Regions from separate parts of the Homo sapiens genome. Here region 2 is linked to region 1. Evidence: promoter capture Hi-C in human tissues and cell types (Jung and others, 2019). All regions are on one chromosome and are shown on one strand. The core of a region is centred on a gene start or on the middle of the fragment in contact, and the rest is flanking DNA. Distances in the headings are between cores, read along the strand shown.

Region 1 (7,539 bases), core at 4,969-7,468:
ATCACAGTGACTAGAGAAGGGTGTGAGAAACGCAAGAGGTGGACAGTCTGAGAAATGAAGTTGTAATGGAGAGATGAGAGAGGAAGAGTGACAGGAGGATGTGGTGGATTTAGGGTTTTTTTCTTTTTCTTTTTCTTTTTTTTTTTTTTTTGAGATGGAGTCTCGATCTGTCACCTAGGCTGGAGTGCAGTGGCGCAATCTCAGCTCACTGCAACCTCAGCCTCCCGGGTTCAAGTGATTCTCCTGCCTCAGCCTCCTGAGTAGCTGGGACTACAGGTGCCCACCACCACACCCAGCTAATTTTTGTATTTTTAGTACAGACAGGGTTTCACCATGTTGGCCAGGCTGGTCTCGATCTCTTGACCTCCCAAAGTGCTGGGATTACAGGCATGAGCCACCGCACCCGGCTGGTAGATTTAAGACAGCAGAGTCTTGAGCAAATTTGGCTGCCAAAGGGAAGGACATTGACCTTTAAATTGTACTGAGTACTGAGAGTGAGGCAAGAGATATAGACAGGAGGGGTGGTATGTAGATGGTAGAGCCTTCCTTAGAGCAGGGGGTGGGTGGTGGGAACCCAGAACATGGGGGAACCGGCCTGAGATGGGAGAGGGATAGTCCCTCCGCAAGTGCAGAGAAGGAGGGAGACTCAGGCAGTGGTGCACTGATGAATGTTTAATATCCAAATCTAGGACACGGGCTGGGTGGGGTAGCTCTGATTTATAGCATTTGCTGATATCCGCGGAGTTAATACTCTGACTGTGGTCAATTTCAAGCACCAATCTGACTTCACTGAATACAGCGCTGGATGGGGATTCCAGCAATCAGCTCTCACAGCTGGTCCAAGCCAGCTAGGATTCAGAAACCCACAGTGAAGCCCGTGGCTATAGGGTCACAACAGGGGCCAGCCAAGCAACACAACAGAGATGGGCCAGGCATAAAACAACAGGAGAGAAGGGACAGGGCTCAGCCAATGGGACCCTGAGGGTTGCAGGCTCAGATGGCTGGGTGTTCCCATTCATCTTTCCTTTTTCTTTTTTTTTGAGAGGGAGTCTAGCTCTGTCACCTAGGCTGGAGTGCAGTGGCATGATCTTGGCTCAGTACAACCTCTGCCTCCTGGGTTCAAGCGATTCTCGTGTCTCAGCCTCCCCAGTAGCTGGGATTACAAGCGCCTGCCACCACACCTGGCTAATTTTTTTATTTTTAGTAGAGAGGGGGTTTTGCCATATTGGCCAGGCTGGTCTCGAACTCCTGACCTCAAGTGATCCACCCACCTCAGCCTCCCAAAGTACTGGGATTACAGGTGTGAGCCACTGCACCCAGCCTCTCTGTTTCTGCTTGTTTTTTTCCTCTTTCTTTTCTCTCATCTCTCCCTTCTCTGCCCTGGCAACTGGCTCATCACAGATGAGCAAGACATAGATCCTGCCCTTAAGGAGCTTGTGAACTGATGGGGAACCTTCTCAGGACTCAGTCTGCTGTCCGGAAAAGTGGGGGAATACCTGCCACCAGCACCCCACCAATGGGGCAGAGGCGGTGGGAAGTGCAGGGCGGCTCCTCAGACACTCAAAGAACAGGCAGGGACAGCAAGGGCATTCCTGGCAAAGGAAGGGCACTGCCCAGCCAAAGGTGGTGAGGTGCGACAGCGAGCTGACCAGCTTGCTGGGGCTCAGACGCCAAGGGGTGTGGCTTGGAAGCCAGTGAAGCTGAAGCGAAAGCAGGGGCCTGGACCTCACCTGCCTCTGTAGGCCCAATGAGGAGCTCAATGTTATGGGAAGATAGCCAGAAGCAATTGAAGGGCTTAGGACAGAGGTGTGGCATGGCCAGATCTGTATTTTATTTTATTGTATTTATTTATTTTTTTTTTGAGAAAGAGTTTCGCTCTTGTCCAGGCTGGAGTGCAATGATGCAATCTCGAGTCACTGCAACCTCTGCCTCCCGGGTTCAAGCGATTCTCCTACCTCGGCCTCCCGAGTAGCTAGAATTACAGGCATGCACCATCATGCATATTTGGTATTTTTAGTAGAGACGGGGTTTCATCATGTTAGTCAGACTGGTCTGGAACTCCTGACCTCAGGTGATCCACCGGCCTTGGCCTCCCTAAATGCTGGGATTACAGACGTGAGACACCGCACCCAGCCCAGATCTGCATTTTAGAAAGACCTTTTTCACTGCAGTCTGGGAGACGGTGAGGAGGCTGCAGTCAGCAGGTAGTGGGGAAGAGGAGGATAAAGGGGCTGCTGTCCTATTGAGCTGAGCACTGTCTGCCAGGCCCTGTTCTAAATACGTTCCATGTAACTTTTCAAACAACTCTTGGAGGCATATACCATTAATGCTCCCATTTTACAGATAAGAAAACTAAGGCTTGGCAAGATTAAGGAACCAGGTAACACGGTATGAATGGCAAGAACAAATGTAAGAACCTGCCTATGGCTAGATGTGGGGATGAGGCAGAGGGAAGGATATGGGAGCAGTTCCACTCTCTGGTGTAAGGGGGCGGTGCCACCTGGGAGACCTGAGGCCTGGAGGAGGATGAAGGGGCTGGAGAAGAGGAATTCAGTTTGGAATTCCTGGGGGCCTTAGTGACATCCAAGCAGAGATGTCCGCTGCAGAGAGACACATTCATTCAAGTCTTCCAGGAGAGGCTGGCTAGAAGTAGATTTGAGAGTGTGCACAGGGATGTGCTTGAAGTCATGGGCATGGAGGAGCTTGGTCAGGGAGTGTGGGGTTGAGGAGAAGCAAGCCCTGAGGCTTATGGGGGTAGGGAGGGAGAGCAGCTGGCAAGGGATTAGTGAAGGGAGCAGCCAGGGGCAGGGGGAGAAGCAGGTGGGCCTTGGGGGGACTCAGGGTACAGGAGGGGTCGGGGAGAGCAGGTGGATGTCAGCAGCATTTCAAGCGGCAGAGACTGGGTTGAGAAGAGTCTCCTAGGACCAAAGAACAGGCATAGCTGCTCAGGCCTTTGCGAGGGCGTTTTCCATGGAGTGGTGGGGACAGGATCGGGAAGCCAAGGGCTTGAGGATCCAGTGGGCTTGAGGGGCTTGAGGATCCAGTGAGGAGGCGGGGACAGAATGGACAACCTGTCCACCAGTGTGGCTGTGAAGGGAGGAGGAGCAGATGGAGGCAGGTGAGGGCTTGGTGTTGCAAAATGCTTTTTTTTTTTTTTTTTTGAGACAGAGATTCACTCTTGTCGCCCAGGCTGGAGTGCAATGGCGCGATCTTGGCTCACTGCAACCTCTGCCTCCTGGGTTCAAGCGATTCTCCTGCCTCAGCCTCTTGAGTAGCTCAGATTACACGCCTGGCTAATTTTGTATTTTTAGTAGAGATGGGGTTTCACCATGTTGGTCAGGCTGGTCTTGAACTCCCAACCTCAGGTGATCCGCCTACCTCGGCCTCCCGAAGTGCTGGGATTACAGGTGTAAGCCACTGCACCTGGCCTGTGAAATGATTTCTCATAGCATGTTCTAACATTTCACATGTACAACTTTGATTTTAATCCATTTGTAAAGCTTCAGTCACTGACTCCTATTGGGAACCTCCAAAGCACAGTAAAATTTCAGCTATCCAGGATTCTTGGCAAATGAGTCATTCTGGAAAACCAACTTTTATTTGGATGAAAATATTTGAAATATAGGATTTCTTTCTTTCTAAAAAAAATTTTTAATGAAAATTTTCAAATATATAAAAATAGGCCAGTGTTGTGGCTCACACCTGTAATCCCAGCACTTTGGGAAGCCAAGGCAGAAGGATCACTTGAAGCCAGGGGTTCAAGACCAGCCTGGGCAACAAAACAAGACCCCCATCTCTACAAAAATAAAAATTAAAAAATTAGCTGGGGGCTGGGCGCTGTGGCTCATGCCTGTAATCCCAGCACTTTGAGAGGCTGAGGTGGACGGATCACCTGAGGTGAGGAGTTCGAGACCAGCCTGATCCAAAATGGTGAAACCCTGTCTCTACTAAAAATACAAAAATTGGCCAGGCGCGGTGGCTCACACCTGTAATCCCAGCACTTTGGGTGGCTGAGGCGGGTGGATCACGAGGTCAGGAGATCAAGACCAACCTGGCAAACACTGTGAAATGCTGTCTCTACTAAAAATACAAAAAAATTAGCTGGGCGTGGTGGCAGGCGCCTAGTAGTCCCGGCTACTCTGGAGGCTGAGGCAGGAGAATGGCATGAACCCGGTGGGGGCAGAGCTTGCAGTGAGCGGAGACTGTGCCACTGCACTCCAGCCTGGGCAACAGAGGGAGACTCCATCTCAAAAAAAAAAAAAAAAAATACAAAAATTAGCCGGGCATGGTGGTGGGTTGGTGGGTGCCTGTAATCCCAGCTACTCAGGAGGCTGAGGCAGGAGAATCGCTTGAACCTGAGAGGAGGAGGTTGCAGTCAACCGAGATCCCGCCACTGCACTCCAGCCTGGGTGACAGAGTGAGACTTCGTCTCAAAAAAAAAAAAAAAAAAAAATTAGCTAGCAAGGCACGGTAGTGTGTGCCTGTAGTCCCAGCTCCTCTACAATCCTGCCATTGCACTTCAGTCTGGGTGACAGTGAGACCCTGTTTCAAAAAATAATAAAAGTAGAAGATATAAGGAACCCCTGCATCCCGCCATCCAGCTTCAGCACTTACCAACTCAAGGTCAATTCTGTCTCATCTCTACCCCACCTGCTCACCAACAAGCCCTGGAATATTTTGAAGCAAATCCCCGATGTTACAGCAATTCATCTGTAAAGCTTTTGTATGTTTCTCCAAAAGACACTTTAAAAACATAACCACAAGCCAGGCGTGGTGGCTCATGCCTTTATTTCCAGCTATTCAGGAGGCAGGAGGATCCTTTGAGCCCAGAAGTTTGAGTCCATCCTTGGTAACATAGGAAGACACCACCTCTCAAAAAAAAAAAAAAAGGCCAGGCGCAGTGGCTCACGCCTGTAATCCCAACACTTTGGGAGGCCAAGTCAGGCGGATCACGAGGTCAGAAGATCGAGACCACCCTGGTTAACACGGTGAAATCCCATCTCTACTAAAAAATACAAAAAATTAGCCAGGCATGGTGGCGGGCACCTGTAGTCCCAGCTACTTGGGAGGCTGAGGCAGAAGAATGGTGTGAACCCGGGAGGCAGAGCTTGCAGTGAGCCAAGATCGCGCCACTGCACTCCAGCCCGGGCGATAGAGCGAGACTCCGTCTCAAAAAATAAATAAATAAAATAAAATAAAAAATAAAAAACATAACCACAATACCATATTAGTTCTCAATTTTTTTTTTCGAAATGGATTTTTGCTCTTATCACCCAGGCTGGAGTGCAATGGTGCAATCTCCGCTCACTACAATCTCTGCCTCCCAGGTTCAAGTGATTCTCCTGCCTCAGCCTCCCAAGTAGCTGGGATTACAGGCATGCACCACCAGGCCTGGCTAATTTTTTGTATTTTTTTTTAGTAGAGACAGAGTTTCACAATGTTGGCCAGGCTGGTCTCGAACTCCTGACCTCAGGTGATCCACCTGCCTTGGGCTCCCAAAGTGCTAAGATTACAGACATGAGCCACAGTGCCCTAAAATTTTTAACAATTCCTCAATATAGTCAAATATCCATTGTTCAAAAATATCCATTGTTCAAATTTCCCCAATATCTTTTTTTTTTTTTGCAGTTGGGTTAAAATTTGGCTCCAAACAAGGTCTGCACGTTGCGTTTTTGTGCTGTCTCTAAAGACTCCCTTCTTTTTTCCATGTAATGCTTTTGTTGAGGAAACCAGGCTGCTTGGAAGGATGAGCCTGGGGGAATTCGGGAGAGGGAGAGAGGGGGCAGGGAGGAGAGAAGGATGGGTGTCCAGATAGATGTGCCATCCATGCTGGGGGACACAGGCAGAATGTGGAGGCCTGTCTCCCTAACTGGGAGGGGAGGCCAGGGCTGCTGAAGGGTGGGGGCCAACCCTGGGCACCCCCCCTTCCCCTCTGCCGCATCCAACTGCTGGAAGTGATGGGAGACAGAAAGATGGCCTGAGTCAGGAGCAGGGGCAGAGCTCAGGTTGTCGTGGGGTCCCGCTGCCCACGTCAGACTGGAGGTGAGGGATGGGCGGGGCCTGACAGCAGGCCTGGAAGGAACAGGATGTCTATGCTGGAGATAGAGGGAGAGGACAGTGCCAAAACCCAGCTCCTGGCCAGTCCCCAGCTCCTCCCTGCCTGGCCCTATCCCAGGATCCCCTCCCCGGCCTCCCAGCTATGATCTACCCCGGGGCCCAGACTTCAGGCGCCTTCACGATGCCGGCGGTCAGTGGTCCAGGTCCCTTATTCTGCCTTCTCCTCCTGCTCCTGGACCCCCACAGCCCTGAGACGGGGTGTCCTCCTCTACGCAGGTTTGAGTACAAGCTCAGCTTCAAAGGCCCAAGGCTGGCATTGCCTGGGGCTGGAATACCCTTCTGGAGCCATCATGGAGGTGAGGGGCAGGGGTGGGGACCAGCTATGCCCAGGGTCCCTCAAAGTGCTGGAGGGGCTGTGACTTGGTGGGGAGTGGGTCTGTCACAGCCATCCTCTGTCCAGGGTGGGGCAAGGCCTGGGACAGTGCCAGGCACCCCAGGACCCCTTCCAGGCTTGTCTCCTGCTCCACCGCCTCAACACCCCCCACCCCTGCCCAAGCTGTTTCTCCTCTGCCTCTCTGCTTCCCTGCCCCAGGACTTCTCTCTTCTCCTCTGCCTCTCCTTGGACCCCTGCCCTTCCTCTACCTCTGACCTGTGAACACACAGACACATGCTCACACACTAAGTCCCAGGCACACAGAAGGCAATGTGGACCAGCACAAACCTCCACTCTCCCGGCTCCATCCCAGCGGGCCTGTGGCTGGCCATGAGAACTGGGGGCTACCTGGAGGGAAGCATCCTCATCCCAGGTGAGTGGGCACCAGCCCTTCCCTGTATGTGTGTTGTGGGTGGAAGCAGGCATGAGAGCATCTTAGCCCATAGGTTTGTATTCAGGGACTTCCAAACCCAGACCTACAAAGAGTGTGTCTTCTACCAGATCTTGTTCAAAAAAGGGTTTGTGATGATGGAACTACACGATAGAGGGAGTGAGCAAGAACAATGAGGATTAGAGTGGAGCGTGAAATAGTCTAGGAGCATGGCTTCCAAAACATATGCTGTGAGGTCTGTCCACCTGAGAGTTGGGCCATGGATTTAATTCTGAGCCTCTTAGCAGGCAAAGCAAAGACAGAAAGCAGATCGGCTGTGGATTTCTGTCTATAAAATGTGAGTTCTTGGCCAGGTGCAGTGGCTCACGCCTGTAATCCCAGCACTTTGGGAGGCCAAGGCGGATGAATCACGAGGTCAAGAGGTTGAAAACCATCCTGGCCAAAATGGTGAAACCCTGACTCTACTAAAAATACAAAAATTAGCTGGGTGTGGTGGCGTGCGCCTGTAGTCCCAGCTCCTCAGGAGGCTGAGGCAGGAGAATTGCTTGAACCTGGGAGGCCAAGGTTGCAGTGAGCTGAGATCCTGCCATTGCACTTCAGCCTGGGCACAGAGCCAGACTCTGGCTCAAAAAAAAAAAAAAAAAAGATGTGAGTTCTG
Region 2 (7,590 bases), core at 2,519-5,018, 260 kb before region 1:
TTTTAAAGGAAGGATGAAGTTGCAACAGTGTTGTGAGGAATATCTAAAATGAGATGTGTGACTAATTACAGCTTTTCTAATAATAATGTTTCTAACAGTAATGTAAAAGAAAGTTCTTGCCTAAGACAGTTTCTTAGCTCCAGGCTAACCCTCTTTAAGGACAGTTGGTTGTTTTGGAGCTAAACACAGCTGACAAGAAGCACTTGCATTGTATATATTTTCCAACAAAGAGCCTTGTAGACATGATTTCATTTCACTCTTACATCATCCCCTTGACAACAGGGAAGGGTAGACCTCAAAATTTCCTTTTTAGTCAAGGAAAGCTGAAGTGACTTCCAAATGGCTGAGTATCAGAGTCAGTTAGGGAGCTTTTTAAAAAATACAGATTGCTGAGTCCTAATGAATTATCTTGGAGGGTGGAGCCTAGGGAATCTTTGTTTTCAACCAAGCCTCTTCTCTTTGTGACCCATAATATAGTTTTTCCTCGCCCAAAGGATGGGAGTGATGATAAGTTGTTCCAGCTTAAGTGACTTGTTGGTGCTTAGTAAGGGAGTTCATGGGTACCCTGCAGAAGCACACACACTTCTTGTGATCCAGTGGTACTGTTTAGAAATCATTTGTGAAAAGCTGTGGGTTTTCACAGGGCAACTGAGAAGTCATATAAGAAAGGTCCTTTGGAACCCAAAAAATCAAACATCTTGGATCAGGAGGTCTGTACAGTAGATCTGAGTTTTACAACAATAGTGTTTGCAGCCAGCAGTGGGATTCAAATCCCATCACTTCCAAATATTGCCCTTGTGATCTTTTAGTAGGGCTCTGATTTGCTCTGAGCCTGTGTCTTCTCATCTGTGAAATAAAAAGAGTGCCACTGCCTCCCATGGATGTTGTAAGGATTAACCGAGCTAGCACATGTGAAAGCTTGTCCAGTGCCAGGCACATGGTAGGTAATAGTGCCCGGGGGAGCTCTTTTATGTAAACAGTGCCATCCTCTCCTGCATCACATAGACATGCCTCTGAAGTGGGAGATGTACTGAGATACACAGAGGTTTTCACTCATCACCCAGGGAGATAGTGGCAGAGCTAGGACTAGAATCAGAGAATCCCAACTTCCACGACAGCAGCACCCTGGCCGCCAGCCCAGACCCGCCTCCCACTGATTGCTTTGGTTTAGCAAAACATCTGTGAGTTGCCGGCTGCCCCCGCACTGCTGTGTGGTTGGCAGAGTTCCATACCGGCCGCTGAGTCAGCTCATAGCAGGATCCTGCCCTGACAGCGCTGGGAAAGTTCAGGCCCGAGGCGGCTGGGCTGCCCCCGCCTTGGCAGCTGGCCAGCGTCTGCGTGTGTGCGGTCGTTCCTAGAAAGTGCAGCCGCATGCGAGGAACAAGTGGAGCTCCAGAGCCTGTCTGTCTTCAGGAAGTGTAGCAGGTGTTGAGGTCAAGCCATTAGAGGTTTAAAAAAAGACTCTTCAGAACTGGCGTGTGCATGTGCACACGTGTGCACCGTGGCAGGGCACCCAGCATCATGTTATCTAGATGGTGGCAGCCCTATGACTACGTAGCTCAGTATTCAGGGGGCTGGCTGTTGGCATTTGAAACTCTTTGCGTTCACTTTATGTTTCTGAGGCATATTCACTAATTATAGACTGCTTGGCAGAGCACCTGCCAAAATGTTTTATAAATACCACAGTAGCTGAGGTATAATCCCTCACCCAAAATTTACCTTCCCCCAGGATTTGGAGATCAAGAACTGAACTGGGGGGCTTTGGGTAGCAATGACTTAAACCGTCAGATGTGCACGTCCTTTTCCCCTTTAATTTTTAACATTGATTTGATCTGTGCTCTCCTTTTCTATAAATCCTGATTTTAAAGGAGTAAATCATATGCTTGGGGATTTTAAAACTTTTTTTTTAGTATATTTTAGAAGGGCCAAAAATAATAATATTCTTGGGGAGAGCCTATAGAAACCATTACAGATCATTAGACTAGCTTGTTTTGTTGTTCAAAATCTTTACTTTATGAAACTTAATGGAGTGCAAAAATAGAATATCCCTTGCTCCAGCAACAATTACAAAGACCTTTACAATTGACACAGATCTTTCCCCCCCGCCTTCCCCCTCCCCCGCCGACACAGAGCGCACTCTGTTGCCCAGGCTGGAGTGCAGTGGCGCGATCTCGGCTTCCTGCAACCTCCGCCTCCTGAGTTCAAGTGATTTTCGTGCCTCACCCTCCCTAGCAGCTGAGATTACAGGCATATGCTACCATGCCTGGCTAATTTATTTTTTTATTTTTATTTATTTTTTTGTATTTTTAGTAGAGACAGGGTTTCGTCATGTTGGCCAGGCTGGTCTCAAACTCCTGACCTCAAGTGATCCGCCCGTCCTGGCCTCCCAAAGTGCTGGGATTACAGGCGTGAGCCACCGCGCCTACCCTGACACAGATCTTATTGTTAATGTGATACAGTGTCCATCTTGTTCTTTTGAACAACAAACTTTTACAGAGGCTTCTTTGTGCCAGACCTGTGCTGTATGAAACAAGGCATGTTTCTCTCTCAGGGAGTTCAGGTCTAGCGGTGGCAGTGTGGGAACCTCAAGGGGGATTCGAACTTGGGTTACAATAATTTGATTCTGTCCTGAGTCTACTGGAGCCCAGCCACCCAGTCTGCTATGGCAGAGATATTTTAAAACAGAGTTTTGTTTCAAACATTCACATGCCAAAGTTTAAAAAGTTAATTTTGTCTACAGCATAGCATAGCTTGGCAAACCAACAGGAATACTCAGAAGTATTTTGCAAGATTTTGGGGTAAGGGAGGACAGGCATCTGCTAACTGAAAAGTGAAACTGGGAAAGCTTAAGGGTTCCAGAGATTATTCTTTGCATCTGAAATCCCTTACTTAGAACATGTAAAGTCAAAATTATTTCGTGGATTCTCTTTGAAGAAACTCTTAGAAAATATTTGCTTCTCAAGGCCTGGATTGTTAAGGTGTGGTATTATTCTCTGACACCACAGTGATGGGAAGATGGATAACGCCATTGAGCCAAGTGTTCTAAAACCCATCAGATTCCTATGGGCAGAGTAAATAATTGTAAAACAAGAAAACAGACAAAGAACTGAGTGTTCCTTTTCTCAAAGGAGATCATACAGCCAACTAGGGGATGTTGCTGGCCTTTTGGGGGTGGTGTTCTCCCCCTCTGGTAGAAGGTGGTTCAAGCAGTACAGGCTGGGTCTGTCTTGAGCCCATTGGTAGAGCTAGGTTACTAGAAGGGTGTAGACCCCCTTCGATAGAATAGAAAGAAGAAAGATGGCTTGGCAGGCATGTGGGGCCAGGGTGCATGTGTCCGATTTTCTGCATACTTTGGCAGTCGCTTTGGTTACTGCATGTGGCTGTGATCCAACCACGGGCTTAACATACTTTCACAGCCAATTCAGTTGAAAGCACTGGGAGCCATTGCACAATAAATGTTGGCCCCCTCCTCTACCCTTCCCCTTCTAGCATGTTTTACAAGATTTTGTTTTGTGACTGCCTTCTAGGATGGAAGGGTTTAATTTCAGAATATTTGCAATTAAAGAATTCCTAACGTCCTAAAGCTTGCTAATCACATGTGTTAACAAGGACAGGGTATTACCAATTTCAAACACCTCCAAGCCGCTTGGGGCACCCTCAGCTCATGACAGCGTGGGTTCTCTCTGAATTTGTTGGAGAAGCACTTCTGCAGTACAGAAGCAAAGGAAGCTCCATGACAAATGGGAAGAATTGCCATGTTAGATGGGCACTGGGAGAGACAAAGGGAATGTGATTTGAGAAGAGGGAGTTTCGTGTTTGTTTTTGTTTTTTTGGGGTTTTTTTTGCCTATTCTTAACCATGAGCAAAATCAATCTCATCTTACCGTGAGAGTCGACTTCCTGCTGGGCAATTAGTGGAGACTACTGTCCATTTCTTCTAATGCCATGACTGACTGACTGGTGTCCAGAAGCCATCCCTCTAATTAAGGTGTAGTCCCTTGGGATAGGCCTACTTTTCTTTCTTTTTTTTTCTTTTTTTTTAGACGGTGTCTCGCTGTCACTCAGGCTAGAGTGCAGTGGCATGATCTCGGCTCACTGCAGGCTCCACCCCCCGGGGTTCACGCCATTCTCCTGCCTCAGCCTCCTGAGTAGCTGGGACTACAGGTGCCCGCCACCACGCCCGGCTAATTTTTTTGTATTTTTAGTAGAGACGGGGTTTCACCGTGTTAGCCAGGATGGTCTCGATCTCCTGACCTCGTGATCCGTCCGCCTCGGCCTCCCAAAGTGCTGGGATTACAGGCGTGAGCCACTGCGCCCGGCCGGGATAGGCCTACTTTTCTTGGTAGATACTGCATGACTATCATTAGCTGGGTGTGGTGGCACACGCCTGTAGTCCCAACTACTTCGGCAGGCTGAGGCAGGAAAATCACTTGAACCTGGGAGGCGAAGGTTGCAGTGAGTCGATATCATGCCACTTGCACTCCAGTTTGGATGACAGAGTGAGATGGTGTAAAAAAAAAAAAAAAGGGAAAAAGAAAAGATACAGCATGACTATGGAACATTTGAGGCTTTTTTAAAAAACTGTGCAAAGTATTGCCCAAAAAAGAAAATGTTCGTAGGCTTTCCTCATGTTCTTTATAGAGCTACCTTGCATGCCCTTGCCTTCTGCAGTCACAATGGAATCCATCTAGTTGAGTGGTTCTCAATTAGAGGTGACCCCTGCCCCTTCCCAGGGGACATTTGGCAGTGTCAGGAGACATTTTTGATTGCCATGACTGGAGTAGGGGGCAGTGTGCTATGGGCGTCTAGTGGGTAGACCAGGGATGCTGCTAAACATCCTATAACGCACTGGACAGCCCCCCAACAGCAAAGAGTTATCTGGTCCAAAATAACAGTAGTGCCAAGGTTGAGAAACCGTGCTCTAGATTGTGCAACCAGAAAGAACATAAGCTTCGCTATCATCAGACAGCACCAGAGACTCTTTTCCTTTGTGTTTCAGTCTCAGTAACTGAGGAGTTTGGCAGCCTTGAATTTTCTTGACTTCTGCTTTCAATATCTGTACCGAGCTCATGTCTTTCCTCTAGTCATCTAGGTGAACAGACTGTCACTTGGGAAAGGTTTGGGGCCTAGAACTTGAGATCTCTTACTTGACTCTATCAGTGATTCTTTCAGCCCAGCACTCCATGATATCTTTGATATCTTTGGTGATATATGAGAGAGCTTGGTTGCCCTTGTAGACATTAACCCCAAAAGGTTAAAGTGTAAATACTTGGCAGACTTGTTACCTAGTAACAGATTTAATTATTAAATCAGCATTGGTTTTGGAGCCAGAGGATGTGGATTAAGACCCTACTTCCCGCCAGGCGCAGTGGCTCACACCTGTAATCCCAGCACTTTGGGAGGCGGAGGCAGGCGGATCACGAGGTCAGGAGATCAAGACCATCTTGACTAACACAGTGAAACATCATCTCCGTCTCTACTAAAAATACAAAAAAAAAAAAAGTTAGCTGGGCGTGGTGGCAGGCGCCTGCGGTCCCAAGCTACTCCGGAGGCTGAGGCAGGAGAGTGGCATGAACCCGGGAGGCAGAACTTGCAGTAAGCTGAGATCACACCACTGCACTCCAGCCTGGGTGACAGAGTGAGTGTCCATCTCAAAAAAAAAAAAGGAAAAGAAAAAAGACCCTGCTTCCACTGCTTGCTTGCTCTAGTACTTTGGACAAGCGTTCTAATCTGCCTCTCTGAACCCATGCATCAATCTATTCCAGAGGATGATAATCCTCTCCCGCTATCCTCAGGAAGTGATTTTAAGGATATTACAAAGGTAGAAGAAAAATATGAGTGTGAAAGAGCTTTGCAGGGTTAGGGCGAATTGTCATCAACACCTAAGTCCTTTTTGAAGCTACCGTCGTCCCTCACATGCAGGGGATTGGTTCCAAGACCCCCACATATACCAAAATTTGAGCATACTCAAGTCCTGCAGTCAGCTCTGTGGAACCCACATATATTAAAAGTCAGTCTTCCATATACATGGGTTTCACATCTCGTAAATTTTGTCTTTGATCCAAGTTGGGTTGAAAATAGTTTACATATAAGTGGACCCAGGCAGTTCAAATCCACGTTGAAGGGTCAATCATAATTTTTCAGTCTTTATGACCTTTGTAGATAAGATGCTCCATAAATCCTACCCACTACTCTAAAACAACTCCTTTTCAGGTTTTCTAGAGCCCTGACCACACTCTGGTGTTCTGAAGTTCTCTGAAACCTTTCAGGATTATGTGAGCTTAAACCATGGCGCTTCTGAAGCTGTATCTTTCCGTATTAGCATAGGGATATGTGTGTATTGTTCTTTAGGTAGAAGTAAGCTTTATAGATACTAAGTCCTTATAAATACACAATCACTGACTTGACTTGGGTCCTTACCCTCTCACCAGAGGCTAATTTCTCTACATGTGTCCCAGATCCCATCCCCTTCCAGGTTTCCAGGGACTTGCTCCATCAGTGAACCCTCCATTTCCTGACTCTTTGGGCTCATTCTCTTCCAGGCCTTTTCCACGTTTACGCATCTTCTCTCTGTCAGACTTAAAAACAAGCAAACAACAACAAAAACCTTTAATCTTAAATTTTACCTGAGTCAGTTGTTAACAAGGAAATGAGAGACCACTTTTAAAAAATTTCCTCTTGATTGCACATTATTGCCAGCTTTTTTTCTATTCCTAACTATCCCCCACATCCTTGCAACAAAGCTTCTCAAAGGAATTGGTTTTACTCTTTATTTCCATTTGTCACCTCCTACTCACTCCTCAGCATACTCCAGTCTGATCTCTGTTTCTTCCATGTCCCTGAAGTTCCATGTTGCTAAGCCCAGCCTTCCCTGACCTCATTGATTTCTCAGCATTATTGAATACAGAGCACTCCCTCCTTGAATATTCTCTTCTTTTGCTTTCTATAGTCCTTCATTCTGCTTATGCTTATTTTCTTTTCCTTTTCTTTTTTCTTTCTTTCCTTTTTTTTTTTTTTTTTTTTTCTGAGACGGAGTCTCGCTCTGCCGCCCAGGCTAGAGTGCTGTGGCGTGATCTTGGCTCACTGCAATCTCCGCCTCCCGGGTTCAAGCGATTCTCCTGCCTCAGCCTCTCAAGTAGCTGGGACAACAGGCGCATGCCACCACGCCCAGCTAATTTTTTGTATTTTTAATAGAGATGGGGTTTCATTATGTTAGCCAGGATGGTCTCAATCTCCTGACCTCGTGATCCACCCGCCTTGGCCTCCCAAAGTGCTGGGATTACAGGCATACACCACCACACCCGGCTAATTTTGTATTTTTGGTAGAAACGGGGTTTCTCCACGTTGGTCAGGCTGGTCTCGAACTCCCGACCTCAGGTAATCCACACACCTTGGCCTCCCAAAGTGCTGGGATTACAGGCATGAGCCACCACGCCCAGCCTATTCTATGGATTTTGACAAATGTGTAATGACATGTATCCGCCATTGTAGTATCACACAGAGTAGTTTCACTGTCCTAAAAATTCTCTGTGCTTCACCTATTCATCTTTCCCTCCCCCTTAACCCCTGGCAGCCCCTGATTCTTTTCCTG

What was found. Contacts are between HindIII fragments. The study calls those that stand out against the background at their distance.
Region 2: a fragment that was not itself captured here is called in contact with the fragment with the promoter of LMAN1L in region 1 in 2 of the 25 tissues and cell types used here (dorsolateral prefrontal cortex and spleen).

What each region holds. Positions count from the first base shown.
Region 1 is chr15:74,806,617-74,814,155 of GRCh38, forward strand. LMAN1L (lectin, mannose binding 1 like) reads left to right here and starts at 6,219. Exons shown (of 14, transcript NM_021819.3): 1 at 6,219-6,413. The coding sequence starts at 6,239. The HindIII fragment of the contact is 6,905 bases long and covers 4,110-7,539 here.
Region 2 is chr15:74,545,055-74,552,644 of GRCh38, forward strand. The region is part of intron 2 of ARID3B (AT-rich interaction domain 3B); the gene reads left to right. Among named protein-coding and RNA genes, the nearest start is that of ARID3B, 7.6 kb to the left of the region's middle. RefSeq lists a silencer at 968-1,510 and enhancers at 1,094-1,388, 1,211-1,520. The HindIII fragment of the contact is 3,774 bases long and covers 1,882-5,655 here.